Regions from separate parts of the Homo sapiens genome. Here regions 2, 3, 4 and 5 are each linked to region 1. The links are contacts of gene promoters, found by promoter capture Hi-C in blood cells and fetal thymus (Javierre and others, 2016). All regions are on one chromosome and are shown on one strand. Each heading gives the region's core, a stretch centred on a gene start or on the middle of the fragment in contact. The rest is flanking DNA. Distances are from core to core; before and after follow the strand shown. Region 1 holds the start of FCRL2 (Fc receptor like 2). Region 2 overlaps LOC105371458 (a long non-coding RNA gene). Region 3 has its middle 3.2 kb from the start of FCRL4. Region 4 has its middle 19 kb from the start of FCRL4. Region 5 holds the start of FCRL5 (Fc receptor like 5).

What was found. Contacts are between HindIII fragments. The CHiCAGO score rates a contact against its expected background, and 5 or more counts as called.
Region 2: a contact is called between a fragment that was not itself captured here and the fragment with the promoter of FCRL2 in region 1, in 1 of 17 cell types (naive B cells). The highest score is 5.4, in naive B cells.
Region 3: a fragment that was not itself captured here is called in contact with the fragment with the promoter of FCRL2 in region 1 in 1 of 17 cell types (total B cells); the score reaches 7.1 in total B cells.
Region 4: a fragment that was not itself captured here is called in contact with the fragment with the promoter of FCRL2 in region 1 in 1 of 17 cell types (total B cells); the score reaches 6.1 in total B cells.
Region 5: a contact is called between the fragment with the promoter of FCRL5 here and the fragment with the promoter of FCRL2 in region 1, in 1 of 17 cell types (total B cells). The highest score is 5.6, in total B cells.

Annotation. Positions count from the first base shown.
Region 1 is chr1:157,774,786-157,778,469 of GRCh38, forward strand. It overlaps FCRL2 (Fc receptor like 2), which reads right to left and starts at 2,347. Exons shown (of 12, transcript NM_030764.4): 1 at 2,258-2,347; 2 at 990-1,010. The coding sequence starts at 2,288. The HindIII fragment of the contact is 5,936 bases long and covers 518-3,684 here.
Region 2 is chr1:157,948,893-157,952,748 of GRCh38, forward strand. LOC105371458 (a long non-coding RNA gene) reads left to right here. Exons shown (of 4, transcript NR_135760.1): 4 at 1-179. Among named protein-coding and RNA genes, the nearest start is that of KIRREL1, 43 kb to the right of the region's middle. The HindIII fragment of the contact is 1,263 bases long and covers 1,881-3,143 here.
Region 3 is chr1:157,599,465-157,603,094 of GRCh38, forward strand. No RefSeq gene overlaps it. Among named protein-coding and RNA genes, the nearest start is that of FCRL4, 3.2 kb to the left of the region's middle. The HindIII fragment of the contact is 3,474 bases long and covers 1-3,235 here.
Region 4 is chr1:157,615,654-157,619,462 of GRCh38, forward strand. No RefSeq gene overlaps it. Among named protein-coding and RNA genes, the nearest start is that of FCRL4, 19 kb to the left of the region's middle. The HindIII fragment of the contact is 3,753 bases long and covers 504-3,809 here.
Region 5 is chr1:157,551,186-157,555,058 of GRCh38, forward strand. FCRL5 (Fc receptor like 5) reads right to left here and starts at 1,330. Exons shown (of 17, transcript NM_031281.3): 1 at 1,147-1,330. The coding sequence starts at 1,177. The HindIII fragment of the contact is 25,493 bases long and covers 1-3,873 here.

The DNA.
Region 1 (3,684 bases), core at 1,097-3,596:
GTCTCCCTGGACACTCTTGTTCCATTCAAGGTGACAGCAGGATCTGCTTTTCCCACACTGTTCCTTAGAGCCCAAAGAGCCCCTTCCACTTGGTAGCCAGCATTCAATGGGCAAGGGAACAAGTCTCCCTTTCTTTAGATTTTGTCTTGGCTCATGTGAAGATTCTGTATATAGAATAAAATATTTTTCCCATTGACTTCCTTCACTGAGCACAGATTTAACTCAGAAAGAGTGAAATAAAATTAGCTTTATTTCACTCTTTATGATTAGAACAGTAATACATGCATTTTTAAAAAATCAAAACTAAATACTAAATCTAGAGCACGGGTTGGCAAATTATGGCCTGTGAGCTGGCCAACACTGTTTTGGTAAATAAAATGTTATTGGAACACAGCCATCCTCATTCGTTTACATATGGTCTATGGTTGTTTTCCTGCTACCACAGCAATGGCATTGAGTAGTTACGGCACACACCTGAAAAGCTTAGCCTATTTACTCTCTTGCCTTTTACAGGAAAAGCTTGCTGATTCCTGAGCTAGAGCTAGAGAAGCAATGAGGACACATGTTTATTCTGACCCTGCAGAAGTTTGTAGTTCTGACACATTCCTCTATAAATAGCTGTTTTCAGAGCTGTAAAAACATTCAGCATTCAGCCAGACAATAAAGAGGCATTACAGTCCTATGGGCAGGAAAACAATTCTCTCCAAATTGTTCTTTTCTTCAATCTGCATGTTATTGCCCTTCTTAAAGCCAGGCTTTTAAGGAAGAGGCAAGCATGTGGGGTCTTGAGAAGGCTAGGTGGTACCTGGTCACCCAGACATGCAAGTGGTGTTGGAAACAGGCTGCGTGACCTCAGAACATGTCAGCCTAGAGGGCAGTAATATTAGGACATCTTCACAGGCTTTCCAGAGCCACCTCTATAGAATCCTGGGGTAGTGGGGTGACTGATATGCCAGAGACCAAGAACAACAAAGACAAGGAGGACTCACCTGCCTGTTCAGTGACTGCATCTGTGAGGAGATCAAAAGCCAGAGATTAGCACACAGCATTTGCCCTCATAATTTATAAATTTATATTACTCTGGTAAATTGCTCAAAAACTTCTTTCCATTTTCCCTTTCTTTTCTATTTCCCTAATCTCTTATTACTAACAATTCAATCTCCCTCGAGCACACATCTAACTGTCATTCATTGTAGTCAAAAGGCAAGTTGCAAACCCAATGCTTGACTAAAGGGATTGTCGAGAATACCCATGTTGGATATTTAGTGACTCTCCTTGATTTCATTTTCCTTCCACCATCCCCACCACTCTATCTCACACTCTGACTTTTCAAGTGGTAGATAGACATGACAACACGATCACAAAGGGCTCATCAGGAAACATACATTGTGAGAGTTCCAAGAAATCAACAAATCAGTCTCTTTCCTATGGCCATATTTCACGTTAGAGCCCTTTGTATTCCAATAACAAATATTTATTTAGTGCCTACACAGCATAGAGAAAGGGATCTTATTTACTCTCTCACCCAGGCTGGAGTACAATGGTGCGATCTTGGCTCACCACAACCTCCACCTCCCGGGTTCAAGCAATTCTCCTGCCTCAGCTTCCCGAGTAGCTGGAATTACAGGTGCCCACCACCACGCCTGGCTAATTTTTGTATTTTTAGTAGAGATGAGGTTTCACCATGTTGGCCGGGGTGGTCTCGAACTCTGACCTCAAGTGATCCACCAGCCTTGGACTCCCAAAGTGCTAGGATTACAGGTATGAGCCACTGCACTCACCCAGGAATCTTATTTTCTAGCAGCAGCTGTCATCTCCCTCATTGTCCACGATTAAACAGAGGAATATTAGCAAAGGGTCTCAATGCATCTGCTGAACCCAAATCTTATAGATAACAATTGAATAATCGGTGTTCATGGAGGAGAAGGGCATTGCTAAATGCTAATATTATGAACATTTTACTATGAGAACATTATATTACTCAATGAGATCTAAGATATCAAAATAGCAATTCATGACCAGCAAATGGAAAAGTGGTCCACCTTGAACATTAAGCATTGTGCTTAATGCTTAATGGATGTGCTGCAAATTCACTGTCCTCAGCCTACTTCTTTGCATCTGCCTTTGAAGCCCAAGCTGCAGGCAGGACCTGAGCATCCCCACCAGTCCCTGGGCTCCAATAAAACCTCCAACCTTTTGGGAGCAGTAGACCTCATTCAGCTGCCACCTCACTTCTCAGTCAAATTATTGAACTCACCAAAGATGACCAGCAATGACCACAGCAGCATGAGGACCTAATCCAGCTATTTGAAAAGAGATGTACTCTTGGTCACCAACTGGAGACTCTGAGCAGGCGATGAAATGTGGTTTTCAGAATAGGTTTTGTATAATTAGCAAAAAAGGAAGTAGAATAGTGCCACTATGTTTAACCATTATCTTTGTCCTGGAAGGGCTAAAACAATTATAGCTGATCCTCTCAATGCCAGAGAAATTTTGTAACTTGACCCTCATTATGATACCTAGCATTTACATATGGGTTGCAATGAGTCAGACACAGTTCTAAGTGCCTCATGCTTACAGAGTTATTTATTACCTTCAGCAAGTTTCTGAATTGGCACTATCCCCTTTCACATGAATAAGGAAATTGAGGCACTAGTAAAGGTAAGTGTCTTAGTCCATTGGGGCTGCTATAAAGAATACCTTAGACTGAGAAATTTATAAACAACATAAATTTATCACTCATAGTTCAAGAGGCTGGGAAGTTTAAGATCAAGGCACCAGTAGATTCAGTGTCTGATGAGGGCCTGTTTCTCATAGATGGTGTCCTCTATGTGTCTTCACATGATGGAAGGAGCAAACAAGCTCCCTCAAGCCTCTTTTACAAGGAGACTAATCCTTTTCATAAGAGTTCCACACTCATGACCCCTAAAAGGTCATGTAATAAAAGGTGGGTACCTTTTATTACTATTGCATTGAGGATTAAGTATCAACATAAGAATTTTGCCAGGACACAAACATTCAGATGATAGCAGCCAGTAAAATGACCAAGATCAGCTTAATCAATTTCTAGTAGTAACAGATCTGGGATTCAAACCCAGGCAGCCCAGTGTCACAGTCTGGCTCTTAAACATTGTGCCCTATTATCTTGATATATTGCTTCTCAAGGTTCATAAAATAATAAGGCCATTGTTTCAATAGCTCATATTTCTTAAGTAAAATTTTTCGTAGTCATTCGATGACTTTCTAGAATGAGATTTTACTAAACTTCAAAACACTTGCACTATATTGCTGAAAACATTGCCATCTTTCTAATCTGTAATCACAACATTGCCTATTTCTAATCTGCATTGCTTTTTGTACCCCAGGCTGATCCTAATACAGTTATCTCACACAAAGCAAAGCGCGTGTTATGTGAACACCTATTATCATGCTCACTTTGATTAGATGTAGTCCCAGTAGATGTTGTCTCATCAGTGAACCTTATGCAGGATGAAACTCTAAACCAAAAAATCACAGGTGCTTATAAATGAGGGACTGACTGAAAATATTCATAGACTCAATGTTACCTGTTCAGGTACTTAACATTTACCTGAATACTTAACATTGAATTTTTAACAATTGGATACTTAACATTTTATTCTCACTATTATCATAGTTTTACTTTGAGAAAGGCTAATATTTATA
Region 2 (3,856 bases), core at 1,262-3,761, 170 kb after region 1:
ATTAATTTTAAGGTCAAACCAGATGGAGATTTGTGGTCACTGAGTGATGAGCACCCTTTAGCCCTGTGTCCAGTTGCCTGTCTACTCTCCAAGCTGAGATTACCCCTCTGCCCTCTTCCTGTTCCTCCCCACTCTAAGATCCATGTTCAAAGTTCCCATATAAATTGTGTCATCTCATTATCCATGCAGGGCCTTTGTTTTCCTGACAACTGAGTTTCTGAGATTCTCTTTCCCACCCCCTTTTCTTCCCAGCTTCTATTCCAGTCTCACTTACTGTCTCAGTGAACATCTTTTGTTTTTCCTGCTGTCAAGGCATCCACTCAGCCTGAGATGGCTCCCAGCTCTCATCCACCCCAGTGGAGCTGCAGCCAGTGTGCAGTAATGATAATGGTTCCTTTAGGGCTAAACTTCCAGAACTGGACCCAAGGAGGAAGGAAGATGTGAGGAAGGCACCAAGTGAGTGAGGACTGAAGGGGTCTCCTAATAACTCTGGCCCTGCTGAGATTCTTAGGACAAGAATAAGGACACGTGATATTGATGTCACTCATCAGAGTTCTGTTGAATTTTTTTTTTTTTTTTTGAGACGGAGTTTCGCTCTGTCACCCAGGCTGGAGTGCAGTGGCATGATCTTGGCTCACTGCATCCTCCACCTCCTGGGTTTAAGCAATTCTCTGCCTTAGCCTCCCCAGCAGCTGTGATTACAGGCAGCTGCCACCACACCAGGCTAATTTTTTTTTAATTTTATTTTAAGTAGAGACGGTGTTTCACCATCTTGGCCAGGCTGATCTTGAACTCTTGACCTCTTGATCCACCTGCCTCGGCCTCCCAAAGTGGTGGGATTACAGGCATGAGCCACTGCACCTGTCCTAATAATTTTTAAAATGCTATAAAAAAGGAATTAATGGTGAAAGGAGAGAAGAATTGGAAAATATAGCAGCTGGGTGCAGTGGCTTACGCCTGTAATCCCAGCACTTTGGGAGGCCAAGGCAGGTAGATTACCTGAGGTCAGGCATTCAAGACCAGACTGACCGACATGGTGACACCCCTTCTCTACTAAATACAAAAAATTAGCTGGGTGTGGTGGTGCATGCCTGTAATCCCAGTGTAATCCCAGCTACTTGGGAGGCTGAGGCAGGAGAATCACTTGAATCTAGGAGGCGGAGGTTGCAGTAAGCCAAGATCGCACCATTGCACTCCAGCCTGGGCAACAAGAGCAAAAATCCATCAAAAAAAGAAAGAGAAGGGGAGGGGAGAGGAGGGGAAACAGAGGGAGGGAGGTAGGGAGGGAGGGAAGGAGGGAAGGAAGGAAGGAAGGAAGGGTCTCCCCAGCAACCGTGGTCCAGATACAGCAGGACTAGTCAATGACTTGTAGACAGGAGACCATGTTTCCATACCTAGACAGGTCCAGCCCCGATCATCCATGTTAGAGGACTGAGGGAAGGAAAAGGGAAGAGCTCCATGAGGCAGAAGCCAAGAAAGAGGTCAGTGGAAGGAGACCTGATGTGTTTTCTAAATCTCTCTACTGATTTCACCCCATTCTTCTCCATCCCCAACCAGGGTGGAGTAGAGAGAGACCCAGATGCCTGTCTGTTCTGCTCCCTATGCCCATCATGACGCCCCATGCCGAACTTCCACTCTAATGGAAGTCAGTGGGACCGACCAGAGGCTACATCCTGGACCACTCTGCTCTGGGACCTTTCAAGATCCAAGACTCATTCTTTTCATACTTTATTTCCAAAGAGGGAACAGATGAAGTTCTCTCAACTTCCCTTTCCTATCTGATCCCTAATATTGTTCACAAATGCTAGTTGTGCTTATCACCATTCTTAGTTTTTAATATTATTTCTCCATCACTAGACTATAGGCAAACCAAGGACAGAAGCTTCCTCTTGTCCTCTCCTATATCACCTGTAACTAGGACAAGATCTGCCTCATTGTAGCTATTCAATAATTGTGGATGGAGATTTGAAATGTTTGCTCAAAAATAAGTTGACCCTTAGGCTGGGCTCTGTGCTGTTCTGGGGGCCCATTCAAGCACACATTCAAAATCACTTGAAGCTGAAGGTCACATCCCCTGGAGACAATCTGCTCAGGGTTGCCCATTCAGCTTTGCCAAAGAGCAGTTGCCGGGCTCTCCTGTGAATGGACCTGCTCAGTTTTCATCCAGCCACAGGAGCTAAGTTGCCTTGTGCATCATCTGCTTAGGACGGGTAACACTCCTGGTCCCTCCTGGAGAGTGTGGAAGGGGCCTTGTGGCAGCCATAATGGTGCACCAGTCAGATCTCCCTTCAAGGAAGACCCTGCTTCAGGAGTGTACTTAGCTATCAGCCTCCAGCTACATCACCTTCAGGATCTGCTGCAATGTTTGAACCAAAGCTAAAGTCTCCCCAGGCAGCCTCGGCCACTGAGCACGGCGGGACAGCAGGGGTACTTTCTGCTCCACATGGCCATTCTCCTAACATAGACTCCTCTACTGGCAAACTCCCTGGAGCTTCCCACTGGGCTGGATGAGACTTCCTCAGAGCTGCATCAGGGTCAAAGTCTCTTCTTTCCCAACCCTCTTGCCTCCCCGTCTCATTTTACAGGCATCAGACCCATATCACTATCTGAAGACTTTCCCTGACTCCTTTTGTTCCCTCTCTCCCATCTTTCAAAATCTCTTGACCTTACAATCTCTTGACCGTCTTTAGTAACTGCTTCCCAGAGGACCTGAACTGATACAAGCCCTCTTTCCATTGTGGCTTTAATGCTGTTGCACTCACACCATTACTGACATGGTTTGTGTGCTGAACCTGTGAGCCACATAGAACCATCTTCTGCTTAAGGATAATGACAGAGAGAAATCACCCTGTCAGCTGAGGTGCTATTTATGTTTCTTCCTAACAGACCATCCAGTGAGATGGAATACAATAGAAAAAAAAGTGAGATAGAACAGTCTAGCAACTCTGGATCTAGGAACCACCACATGTGCTTGCCCCCACCCTTACATGGCTCAAAACTCATTTCTCTTTGTAGCTCTGAGAGCCTTCCTTCTGAAACCAAATGATAGCTTTATGGAAGGTTGATTAAACCTATTGAATGTCATAGCTAAACTTATGAATTAAAATAAAATCTGGCTAGACACTCCTAGCCTTGTCTCTTAAAGCTTCACATGAAATATCTATAAAGTTCCAGGAAAAGACAAACATAATAATGACACTAAAAATGAGGACTTTTAAAAATCAACTATTGTCAGAGGCAAAAGGAATTTCCATGAACTTTAAGGTCATTAGAATTGAACTGAAAAAAGAAAAAAAGAACAGAAGAGAGGGACACCTTGGGTATGTTGGAAAAAACAGAGCAGGTGGCTTATCTGAAAGTAAATAGAAAAGGTCACTTTCCCATCTCCATATCACACTCCCCTCACCCAGTTACAAAATGCTGAATCTATACCAGAGACCTGGACATCCACTTCTACTGTGTGGGAGCTGCCTTCTGAGAAGTGACAGTGAGGCCCACCCACCACCATCATCAATCTTTTCACCAAAAGAACTCTCTTGAAGGCTGACTTCAGATTTCTCTACACTTAGTTTTCAATGGAAAGGATCTAGAGTACTGTGGAAAAAGAGTTATCCCCCAAGAATGTGTGCCCAACCAAATTGCTCCCTTTATGTGGGAAAGAAGGAAAAAAGCAAACATCAGAAATGAAAGGGTTCAGAACATACACCTGTCATGCATCGGCTAATCTTGAAACAAATCACTTGAACATATTCTCCAGTCAATAAGAGAGAAAGCAAAGTTTAAAAGTAGAGAATGGAGATGTCATGGAATGAAAGACTGATGGATCTTCCCTTACTAAAATTAGACTCAAAACCAA
Region 3 (3,630 bases), core at 249-2,748, 180 kb before region 1:
GAATAGATAATAGACATAGGATGGATTAAGAGTGGTCTGTATTTTTCTAATATAATGTTTTTCTATATATCTGTAATAATTTATTTTCTAACTAGGGTTTGTATTGAACATCAACTATATTTTAGACAATGTCCATGGCCTTAGAAGAATAAAAAGGTGAATAAAGTGCATCTCTCTTAAAGACTTTAAAAAAGTCAATGTGGTAAGGGCCAGAGTAGACATAGACACAAGGAACCATAAAGACATAGAGCTGTCAAGGCGGCACATGGGTCCTTTGTCTCCTTGCCGTGTGACCGTGCTGTCATCTTTCAGCTGCCTTCATTTGTCCCAGGAGGAGCAAGGGTATAAAATGGCAGTCAAGAACCTGATCTGCAGAATCCCACACATCTGGATGAAATCTTGACTTCACCTCTTGCTAGTTGGGTGACTCTGGTCAAGTACTTAGCCTCTTTCACACTGGTAAAAAGGAGATAAAAATAATGTCCAGCTGAAGTGGATGTTGTTATTGATGTTTGTATGAATACATTAATGACATAGAACTCTCAGCTTAGTCCCTATGCTGAGAACTATTCTGTAATACTAGAAGTAACAAGTATAATGAACTAAAAAGCACTTTATAATTGACATAATATCCTACCAACATTTTTGTATTCCTTATAACACTGGAAAATAGTATTTAGCATGAGTTTAGAACTCCAATATTTATTGACTGACTAAGGATTGAGGGAAGTTGAAATCATATTGCCTGTTTTCTTGTTTCTACCATAAGTTTTGCTGAATGAATAGATTTCAATTAGCAAAATAAAATTTCACATTTATGATGTTATACAAGATGTCCAAACACAAAAATCATATTTATTTACAACTACTGTGTAAATGTTTAAGTTTACGTCAGTCAAGTACTATTTTTGTTGTGGTATTTAAGTCACTGACAGAAATATTTTAGTTATTGGTGCCAGAAGTGTGGTTAGTACTTTGAAACATCAGCCAGGAAGTACATATACCATGATTTATTAAGCAATTGCTTGACTAACCAGGAACTTTTAGATTTTATATTAACAAAGGACAAAAATAATTGTTTTCAATGAGAATGTAAGAAACTGAAATTTTTAAACTTTTCTAATTTTTTTTTGAAAAACATTTAAACCTTTACAGTTTAAAAAATAAATTTTCATTTTGGGGTAATTCTAGATTTATATAAAATAGTAAGGATAATACAAAGAGTTCCCATATAGGAAGCCCTCACCTGTTTCAATTTCCCCTACCGTTATCATTTCACATCATGGGGGTGCATTTATCAAAACTAAGAAACCAAGATTGCTACATTACTATTAATTACAGGCTTTATCCAGCTTTTTTCAGTTTTTCCATTGATACCTTTTTCCTCTTCTAGTATCCCTTCTAAGATACTACATTACATTTAGTTATCTTTGCTCCGTCTCTACATTACTATTAATTACAGGCTTTATCCAGCTTTTTTCAGTTTTTCCATTGATACCTTTTTCCTCTTCTAGTATCCCTTCTAAGATACTACATTACATTTAGTTATCTTTGCTCCGTCTCTACATTACTATTAATTACAGGCTTTATCCAGCTTGTTTCAGTTTTCCATTGACACCTTTTTCCTCTTCTAGTATCCCCTCTAAGATACTACATTACATTTAGCTATCTTTGCTCACAGACGTCTCTTCTCCATCTGTGAGTTTCTCAGTGTTTCCTTGTTTTTCATGACCTTGACAGTTTTGAGGAGTACTGGCTAGGTAGTTTGCGGCGTCTTTCAATCTGGGTTTGTCTGACGTTTTGGTCATAATTAAACTGGGGTTATGAGTTTTCACAAAGAATACTACAGCGGTAGAGTGTCCTTCTCATCACATTGGGGGTATGGAATCTCAACATGACTTATCACTGGTAATGTAAATTGTGATCACTTGGTTAAGGTAGTGTTTGCCAGGTTTCTTCGATGTAAAATTACTGTTTGTCTTTTTCTATATTCTTTCGTTTGGGAGCAAGTCCAGCCCACAGTCAGGGTGAGAGGTGAGGTAGGGGGATTTGTCTCCTTGTTCTTATTTACTTATTCATGTATTCATCCATTCAATCATTTATTTATATCACTATAGATTTGTATATTTACTTTAAACTTTGGTAACAATATAATGCTTTATATATTTTGTTGCTCAAATTGATCCAGCTTTGGTGATTGGGAGCTCTTTCAGGTCAGCTTCTTCTTTGTGCCTTTGAGAAACTCTCATCATTTTCCTTGTTGGAACATTTCTGTACTGTCTGGCACTACGAGATGCTCCTGGCTCATCTTACATTTTCCTGCCCCAACTCTAGAATCAGCCACTTCTTCAAGGAGCCCCAATTCCTTTCAGTAGAGACTGATATTTAGAAACCAAGATCTGAGTGCTGAGTATGGTCTTTACTACTACGGGAGAATCATACATTTTTAACTATGTGACAGGGAGTCTGTGGTCTTGTCAGTGCTTTATGGGTGGGAAAAATACTGGAAAGATAAATTTGTTGTTCTTGCTATTAAAAGACTCTTCTCCCAAATCAGTGGCTGTATACGTAATGATTTCTATAGCCATTTGTTAGTAATGGAGGAACAGCCGCTTGGAGTAATCAACTTTGAACTTCAAAGAAAAGGCAGTGAAGAAGCTCAATTACATTTATTTGTAGGCTGGTGCCATCTAGAAGCCGCATTTTATTTTCCATGACTACAGATAATAATATTTCTAGCCTTCAGTGGTAAAATATAATCTCCTTTTGTTTTAGAGACGTTTCCGAGATGATTTCTTGTTCTAAGTCGAGACTCTTCTATCTTCATGAACATACAGATCTTTTTGCTCAAAAACTTGTCCAAAGTGAGAACAGAATCGCAGGTTGTTAGTGCCCTCTATTCCAGATTCACAGATCCACAGTTATGTAGTAGAGGGTGTGAAATGGACACCAGATTTGAACTCTAAGGCCTGGCTATGGTTTTGCTTCATCACTTACAAGCTATGTAGCTGAAGGCAAATCCATTTTGTTACTTGGAGACGTTAACAAGAAAACTTTCATTTCCCCAATATTTTTATTTCAAAAAATTTTAAACCTTTCAAAAAAATGGCAAGAATAGTACAATAAATACTTACCTGCTCTTCACTGAGAGTTATCAGTTATTAACATTTAGCTATATTTGGTCAGTTTTTCCTGAGGGTTGGCCAAGGCAGTGCTGCTTGAGGGATGTGTCAGAAGCTTGGATGTGCGGGCTGGCTCGTTCCAATGTATTGTACTATGGGATGGAGCTGCGAGCAGGAATAAAAGTAGGAAGCTGTAAGCTTGAAACAGGAGACCAGAGCCTGCTTTCCTTGTCATACCTTGTTCTAGTATAAAATTCCCATTATCTTAAAATGTTATATTTGAACCCAGACTTCTAGGTCATTATGAAGGTATATTTGTCAAAGTAGGAGAATAAAACACATCTTATTAGCTTATTAGATTAATTTATAACTTTTTTTTTTTTGAGACAGAGTCTAGCTCTGTCGCCCAGGCTGGAGCTCAGTGGCGCAACCTCCGCTCACTGTAAGCTCCGCCTCCCGGGTTCCCGCCATTCTCCTGCCTCAGCCTCCCGAGTAGTGGGGACTACAG
Region 4 (3,809 bases), core at 1,130-3,629, 160 kb before region 1:
ACTTGAAAAATTTAGGGAGAAAATGCTGCTCCCTAACTCATCTAGTAGGTGACTATGTCCTCAGGTACTTAGAATCCTTATTTAACATGTAATCTTCATAGTTTGGGATGATCTCAGTCATAATTCACACATAGTGGCATGACTGGAAGCTGGTGTGTGTGGGTTGTGTATTTGTGTGTATTTACACATTCATGTGTCTGTGGTGCATGTATGTGTGTCCTTTAAAGAGGCTGGGGATGAGGGATAATAAATTTGCCTGGTTCCCCTCTGATCTCTGGGAATCTGACTATTGCAGTGGGAACTGCAGGCTAAGCTGGGGAGATTGAAGAGAAGAGACAAAAGAGACAAGTTTTTTTGTTTGTTTGTTTGCATTAAAAATTGAGCATATAGCAGGTTGTCTTGTTTGCATGAGGAATAGAGGTGGTGGTGGGGACAGGTGAGAGAAGAGGATAATTTTTAATACCTTTTTGTAGGACCAGTTTAAATCACCTGAAACTATTCTAAGCTTTCCCATGAGATGAATACCAGTTTTTTGACAGATAACACACACAATGATAGCTTCTGCTTTCATTTCCTGTAACAAATAATGCATCTTTCTTTTCTCCAAGTTCCATATAATAAAACAAAGAACCTGCCATGTTGCAAAAAAGTGTGATGAGGGACAAGTGAAGAACATCAAAAGGGCCCATGAGCAGGTCTGGGTCTAGGGACAGAGGTGAGGAAGAAGATGCCACAGAATGTGGAGAAGCTGAGATGGTGTGTGATGGCTTAGGGAGCTCTGCTACAATGTCCTCACCAATAGGTGCTAGAAACAGCCAAAGTTTAATTATTTCTTTCCTCTCTGTTAAGATTGTGACAGTAAAATGAAACCTTTGCATGTGAGGTGCTTAGCAATGGATCTGACACATTCTAGGTCCTTGATCAATTGCCCCAGGGGGTCAGGAGAGGAAGGAGCCAAGGATAATACCCAGGTTCCTGGATGGGGCCATTTGCTGAGAATGAGAACACAGAAATAGGCTAGAAGGTAAAGATAAAGCAGTGAACACACTGAGCGTGAGGTGCCAGTGGAGACGTCTAGTAGAGAGCTGAATGCAGGGTCTGATGCTGAGCAGAGGGTAGGGGGTGGAGATACAGACGTGGGCATTAGCAGCATGGGAATGAACATTGAAAGTAGGGAAGTAGATGTCCTAGTGAGAACACAAAATATGAGATGAAAATCGGCTCATGACAAGACCCAGTGCTTGAGGGGAGCATGGAGGTGCAGAAAGAGGAAGCAGCAAAGGAGCCAGGATCCAGGAGAGAGTGATATCAGGGAAACCAAGGAAGAGAGTTCTCAGAAAGAGAAAGAGAAAGAGGTCAACAGTGCCAAATGCTGGGAGGTTCCTGGTCACCTGGTGGAGTTCTCAGGGGTACTTGCTGGTGGAGGAAGTCCGAGGATTCAGTGTCTTGGAGCAAGTGTAGAAGTCTAGCTGTGACATGGAAGATGAAGAAACAGGAGATAGTTGCAGGGTGAGGTTAAGGGGATGCTGAGAGGGGAGAGTCCTGAGAATGTTTAAGGGCTGTAGCAAAGGAGTGAGCAGGGTCCATGGAACACACCAGAGAAAGGGGAGCTGCATCAGAGATCAGTGTTCCTGAAACAGTGGGAGGAAAAGGGACTTGAACCACAGGAGAAGGCACTCACTTTAGATAACAGGAGCACATTGCTTTGTGTGGGGACAGGAGAGAGTTAGGACAGATGAATATAAAGGCGGGTCAGTGGGAAGTGTGCTGGTAGGAACTTGAAGACATTACTTTCTACTGTTCATTTTTCTCTGAAAAATGGGAGGTTCTGTCATTTGTCATGAGTGATAAGGTAGGTTGGTGTCTTAGTCTGCTCAGGCTGCCATGACAGAACACCATAGACTGAATAGGTTAAACAACAGAAATTTATTTTTTCACAATACTGGGGGTTGGACATCCAAGATCAGGGAGCCAGCATGGTTGGGTTCTGGTGAGGTCTCTCTGGCTTGCAGATGGCTGCCTTCTTACTGTGTGCTCATATGGTGGCTAGAGAGTGATGGGGGTGGGCTGGGGGTGGGTGGGGGGGAGAGAGAGAGAGAGAGAGAGAGATTCGTCTTATTAGAGACCACTAATCCCATCACAAAGACTCCACCCTCATGATCTCATCTAATCTAATTACTTCCCAAAGGTCTGATCTCCAAACACCATCACACTGGGCTTTAGGATCCAATATATGAATTTTGGGAGGGGAGGATAATGCATTTCAGTCAGTCCATAGCAGATGGAAGTTTGAGAGAATGTGAGAGGCAGTCAGCAGAAAGATGAAAATGTGGGCTCTGGATTCAAACTACCTGGATTTAAATCCTGGTTCTGATACTTCCTAGTTGTGAGGACTTGAGAAATGACTTAGTCTTTCTATGTCTCTTCCTTCATAATTTGTAAATGGGGATAGTGACATCTATCTCACAGAGTGCTTATGAGGATTAGATGAGTTAAAACATGCAGAATGATTAGAAGAGTCATGGCGCATAGGAAGCACTCAATATGTGATAGCTATTATTAGTTTATATTATCTTTAGCTGTCATGCACTTAACTGATTGTTGAATGGTGTTAACATTTTGTTCTGGTTAGGTATCGTGAATTTGTGATAGGTCATCCAGAAGACTGGTGTTCTGTTAGGCAGTGTGAGTGTTGTGCAGAGGTTGGATCAATACAAGGTTCATGATTTGCTAAGTAGGTAAGACCTGGTGGTAGTGAAACAGAGGTATTTAGGAGCCTGGCTGGAATGTTTGATGTGCTTATCTGTGAGGTTTTAGCAGGGTAGTAAAAGAGGTGTGCTAGATATAGTGAGCAGGTACTCAATGGAGTTCCTCTACCCTGGAGGCAGTAAAGCGAACCCCACATTTACCAGGCTCTGCGGCAGCTGGGGCTCTGAATGTGATTTAAACTTCATTGTCAGAGGTGGGATTGGAGGTTGGAAGTGAGGCAGAAGTCACCCTTTTGCTTTATCTGCCCTTCTGTGTTAAGGACAGCGATGGTGTCACTGGATTTTCTGCCATAGCAGAGGCCCACATGTGTCTCTCTATATCTGTGGGTGTCGGGAGAAAAGGTGTTGGTCTTTGATTTTTCTTGAATCAATGTGCATTTAGAAGGTACTGCATGGCTCTGCAGCCAGCAGTGCTGGTGGTGACTTCCTGACCCTGAATCAGAGCTGGTTATTTGCAGCCAAGTATCCTAGTTGATGCAGTCATGGGTGCTGATGTCATGCAGGGTGAGTACAGGAATTTGGCTAGAGAAAATGTCTGAGTTTGTTTTTGGTGAGAAGTGACCAGGGGGTTGGTAGATAGATAACTGCAATAAGGAGGTGTAGAGTGTGATATAGTCAGACATATCCTCAAAGGACTGGGTATCAAACATTTTGTGGAGAAACTGTGACTGGATACAACAGAGAAGAGTAAAGAAGGCTTGACTACCTCTCTATCCTAAAATATGTGAGTGTGATAAAATGATTAACAATCTTTTGAGAAGTTCAACGGAGAGAGGGAGAGACAGTCTCCAGTTAAGAATAACCCTTTTTACATTTATTCAAAAAAATTTAGTTTTGTGCATTGTATCTTTTCTTCTTCAGTTATGTTTTATATTTGGTTGTAATATATCATGTATTTTAATATGTTGACCTTAAATTCAGGACAGTTAAATGAATTCTGTTATGTAAATATTATATATTATATTATTAATGTTTATATTAAGCTGATATTAATACAATTCAGGTACATATAAATTAATATGTCAATTGTAATCCCCAGGA
Region 5 (3,873 bases), core at 80-2,579, 220 kb before region 1:
AATCTGGTAGCCAGTAGGTGGCAAGATGAAGTTTGAACCTAGATCCTGTTTGACCCCAGAGCCCATGTTATAAACTTTGCCCTCTCATGCTCAGGACCTGGCCATTACCCACATTGTGTGGGGCCACACTGAGATGTATTCCTACTTCAGGAATTATAGTCCATGCACCTTCCAACTGTGAGGTCCTCTTTTCTTATATCACGCCTGCTCCATTTCTGCTCCTCTAGCTCCTACTCACCTCTAAGTTTCATGAAGTCTTTACTAGCTATTTTGAATACAGTTTATTATCTGCCTACAGCATTCATTGGTAACTTTGCCTGGACAATTATTTAACTGGGAGCTTGTTGCATAGCTGCTTGAAAGTACATTGGCCTTGCTGGGAGCCCTTCTATGTCATGACTTTCCAGAACATAGACGTAGTGTCTCCTATGGACTCTAATTGCTCAGCACCTGTGCATAGATATTACTAAACACATTTGCTGAACAAATAAATAAACATATTTAATTATAATATTTAACCTTTAGTAAAAATCAACCAGTTCGCACATATGAGTTGATAGAGACTTACGTACACCCACAGGGACAAAGAGAAAGTCATATGCTTTAGATTTATCCTTGCTTTGTCCACCTACGCCTCTGCGACCTCCTCCACCCCATGTTCTTAATCAGCCAATTGCTGCAGTGGTTTGCAATTATGTACAAGAGAAAGACCTGTCTTTCCCGTTAGAAACCTTGCCTCTTATGCTGGGGACCAGGATCTGGCCTTGTCATACAAGGAATAAATACATCTCCTCTGCAGAGAGGAGAGTGGGCTCTTCTATGAGTAAGACAATATGAACAAACAAACATGAAACATTCTCTGGACTTTAAGAAGTACTTTTTAAAGAAAAAAATAAATGAAATTTTAATTGTTGTGGTTATTGTGGTTTCCTACTCTGTAAGATTGAAAATTCCTTCCAGCTGTGGCCATTTTCTTCAGCCTCAAGAGAAAGCCCTGAGCTACAGAGTAAAGTTCAAAAATACAGTCTCCTAATGTAGGAGAGAGTCTCTCAGCAGGGGCTGAGCCCCAAGAAAGGACCAGGCCTGCGGTGGAGAGAGAAGCTGTCCCGATCCCACCCAGGGCCCATGGTGAGCCCTTTTACTCACCCAGGACCAGTAATATCACCCACAGCAGCATGAAGACCTGGACCACCAAGGGCTGAGATCAAAAGAGAAGTTTCCTCAATTCCAAAACAGGTTTGGACTTGATCTTACAGTCAGGACACTGCACACCAGCTCCAAGGAGCACATCTGAGAAGCTGTGCTCTCAAAAAGAGCAGAATGCATTAGTGAATTGAAAAAAGGAAGTGGGAGTACCCGTCTTCAGCTGCTAATCACAGTTTCCTACCCGATGATCAAAGAAAAAAAAAAGTTAAGGTTTTAAAAAATCAAATACCCTTGACCCTACATTTTTGCTATTGGGAAATTACCCTGAAGGAAGTATCTGAAGAGAGTACTATAAGAACGTTTATTGTAGCATTCATTATTGCCTAAACACTGGAAACAAAACAAAAAACCATGATATGGGGACTGTTTAAGAATATTCTGATTCATCCGTATGGTGACAAGCAATCATTAAAGAATAAGGTAAATCTGAACATGCCAAGAAGGGAAGACCACCTTGTTTGATGTGAAGAGAATAAAAGTGAGATATAGATTGGTTTTGTAGTATTATCCCATTGGGTAAATATAAAAAATAGGATATATGTGTACATCAACTCTTTTAAGTATACTTTCTTCTTTTCCTGGAAAGTACACACAAAAATATTGATTATGTTTGAGGAGCAATAGGTGGGAAGAACACAATTTATTTTATGTATTTCTGTACCGTTTGATTTTTTAAAAAATTACCAGGTGAATGTATAGCTCTTATGATTTTCTAAAAGTCAAGTTTCCATCCTGGTATACTGGTCAACAGAGGTTCCTAAGACATTAGCTGCCACGAGGAGTGCCAGTTTCTTTCTTTCAAATATTTTCTCACCCTTTCTCTCTGGGCCCATACCTTGGTCTTCCTAAGGGGGCATTTAATTTTATATCTACAAATGCACATCACCTTAGGTATATTATGTCACATCTGACCCACTGCACCCTGAGGCAAGAAAACCATACAGGGGTTACAGGGGTGAATAGAGATTAAGAGGAGAACTTCAAAGGGAACACAGAATCTTTACCTACTTTTGGTGCTAAAACAAATAGTGCTGCTATGAACATTCTTGTATACATTTATTGGGGCATATGCGCACATAATTCTGTTGGGTATATATCTGGGAGTGGAAGTCCTGGCTCATAAGGTATGCATATATTCAGTTTAGGAAGTATTACCAAATTATTTTCCAAAGTGGTTGTGCCAATTCCCACCACACCCACCAACCAATGTATGAGAGTTATCATTGTTCTAAAATTCTTGCTGATATTGGTATTGTCATCTAGTAAAATCTGGCCGTTCTGCTAGAATTATCTCAATGTGGTTTTAATTTGTATGTCTCTGGTGAATTTGAGAATGAGCATTTTTTCATAGTCTAATTGGTGATGTAGATATCCTTTTTATGTGCAATCTCTGTTCAAATATTTCCTCATTTTTCTCTTAACTTTCAGTCTTTCTTTTCCTGTTTTGTAGTTATTTTAAACCCTGAATATAAACCTTTTGTTGGATATATGTATTGCAAATGTCTTCCTTCAATCTGTGGCTTGCTTCTTTGCTCATTGATAGTGCCTTTTGATGAACAACCATTCTAACTTTGACATAGTCCAGTTTATCAGTCTTCTCCTTTGTGGTTAGAGATTTTTGCATCCCTTCTAAGAAAGTTAGTCTACTCCAAGATCATAAAGATACTCTCCCAGGTTATCTTCTAGAAACTTTATTTTTTACCATTTATTTTATATTTATAAGAGCATTGCAATTGATTTTTGTGTACAGTTTGAGTGTTTATATTCACTTTTAACTTAAATACAGATAATTTATCCTGCCCTATTTATTGAAAGTTGATTTTTTCCACAGTACAGTGCAATTTCACCTTTGTTATAAAACAAAAAGCCATGTAGGTCTATTTTTGGAAACTCCTTTCTTGTCCATTAGTCTATTTTGTCTATCCTCATGCCAATACCACACTCTTCTAATTATTGTGGCTTTATAATAACTCTTATTAACTGATAGTTTAAGTCATAAAATGCTGTTCTTCTTCAAAATTGTTATGGCTATTTTTGGCTTTTTGAATTTTTCTATACATTTAAAAATCACCTTGTCAATTCCTGTCCCCTCTCTCCCCAAAAGCCTAGTAGATTTTTAATAACTGGGATTGCATTGGATTTATAAGTTAATTTGTATAAATTAGAAAAGATTTAGTCTCCCAATCCATAAACATACAATATCCCCTCATTTATTTAGGTTAACTTGACATTCTTTCAGTAATTTTCTATAGCTTTGCCTCTGGAAAGTATATCTTTTGGTAGGTTTATCCTTAGGTTATTGATATGTTTTTTATGATATTGTAAGTGACATCATTAGATTTTTTTCTAAATGTATATTGGTATATAGAAATATAATACTTTTTTGTTTTACTGACCATTATTTTTATTTTTTTGAGACAGAGTTTTGCTCTTGTCCCCCAGGCTGGAGTGCACTGGTGCGATCTTGGCTCATTGCAACCTCCACCTCCCAGGTTCAAGCGATTCTCCTGCCTTAGCGTCCCAAGTAGCTGGGATTATAGGTGTCTGCCACCATGCCCAGCTAATTTTTGTATTTTTAGTAGAGATGAGGTTTCACCATGTTGGCCAGGCTGGTCTCAAACTCCTGACCTCAAGTTATCTGCCCGCCTTGGCCTCCAAAAGTGCTAG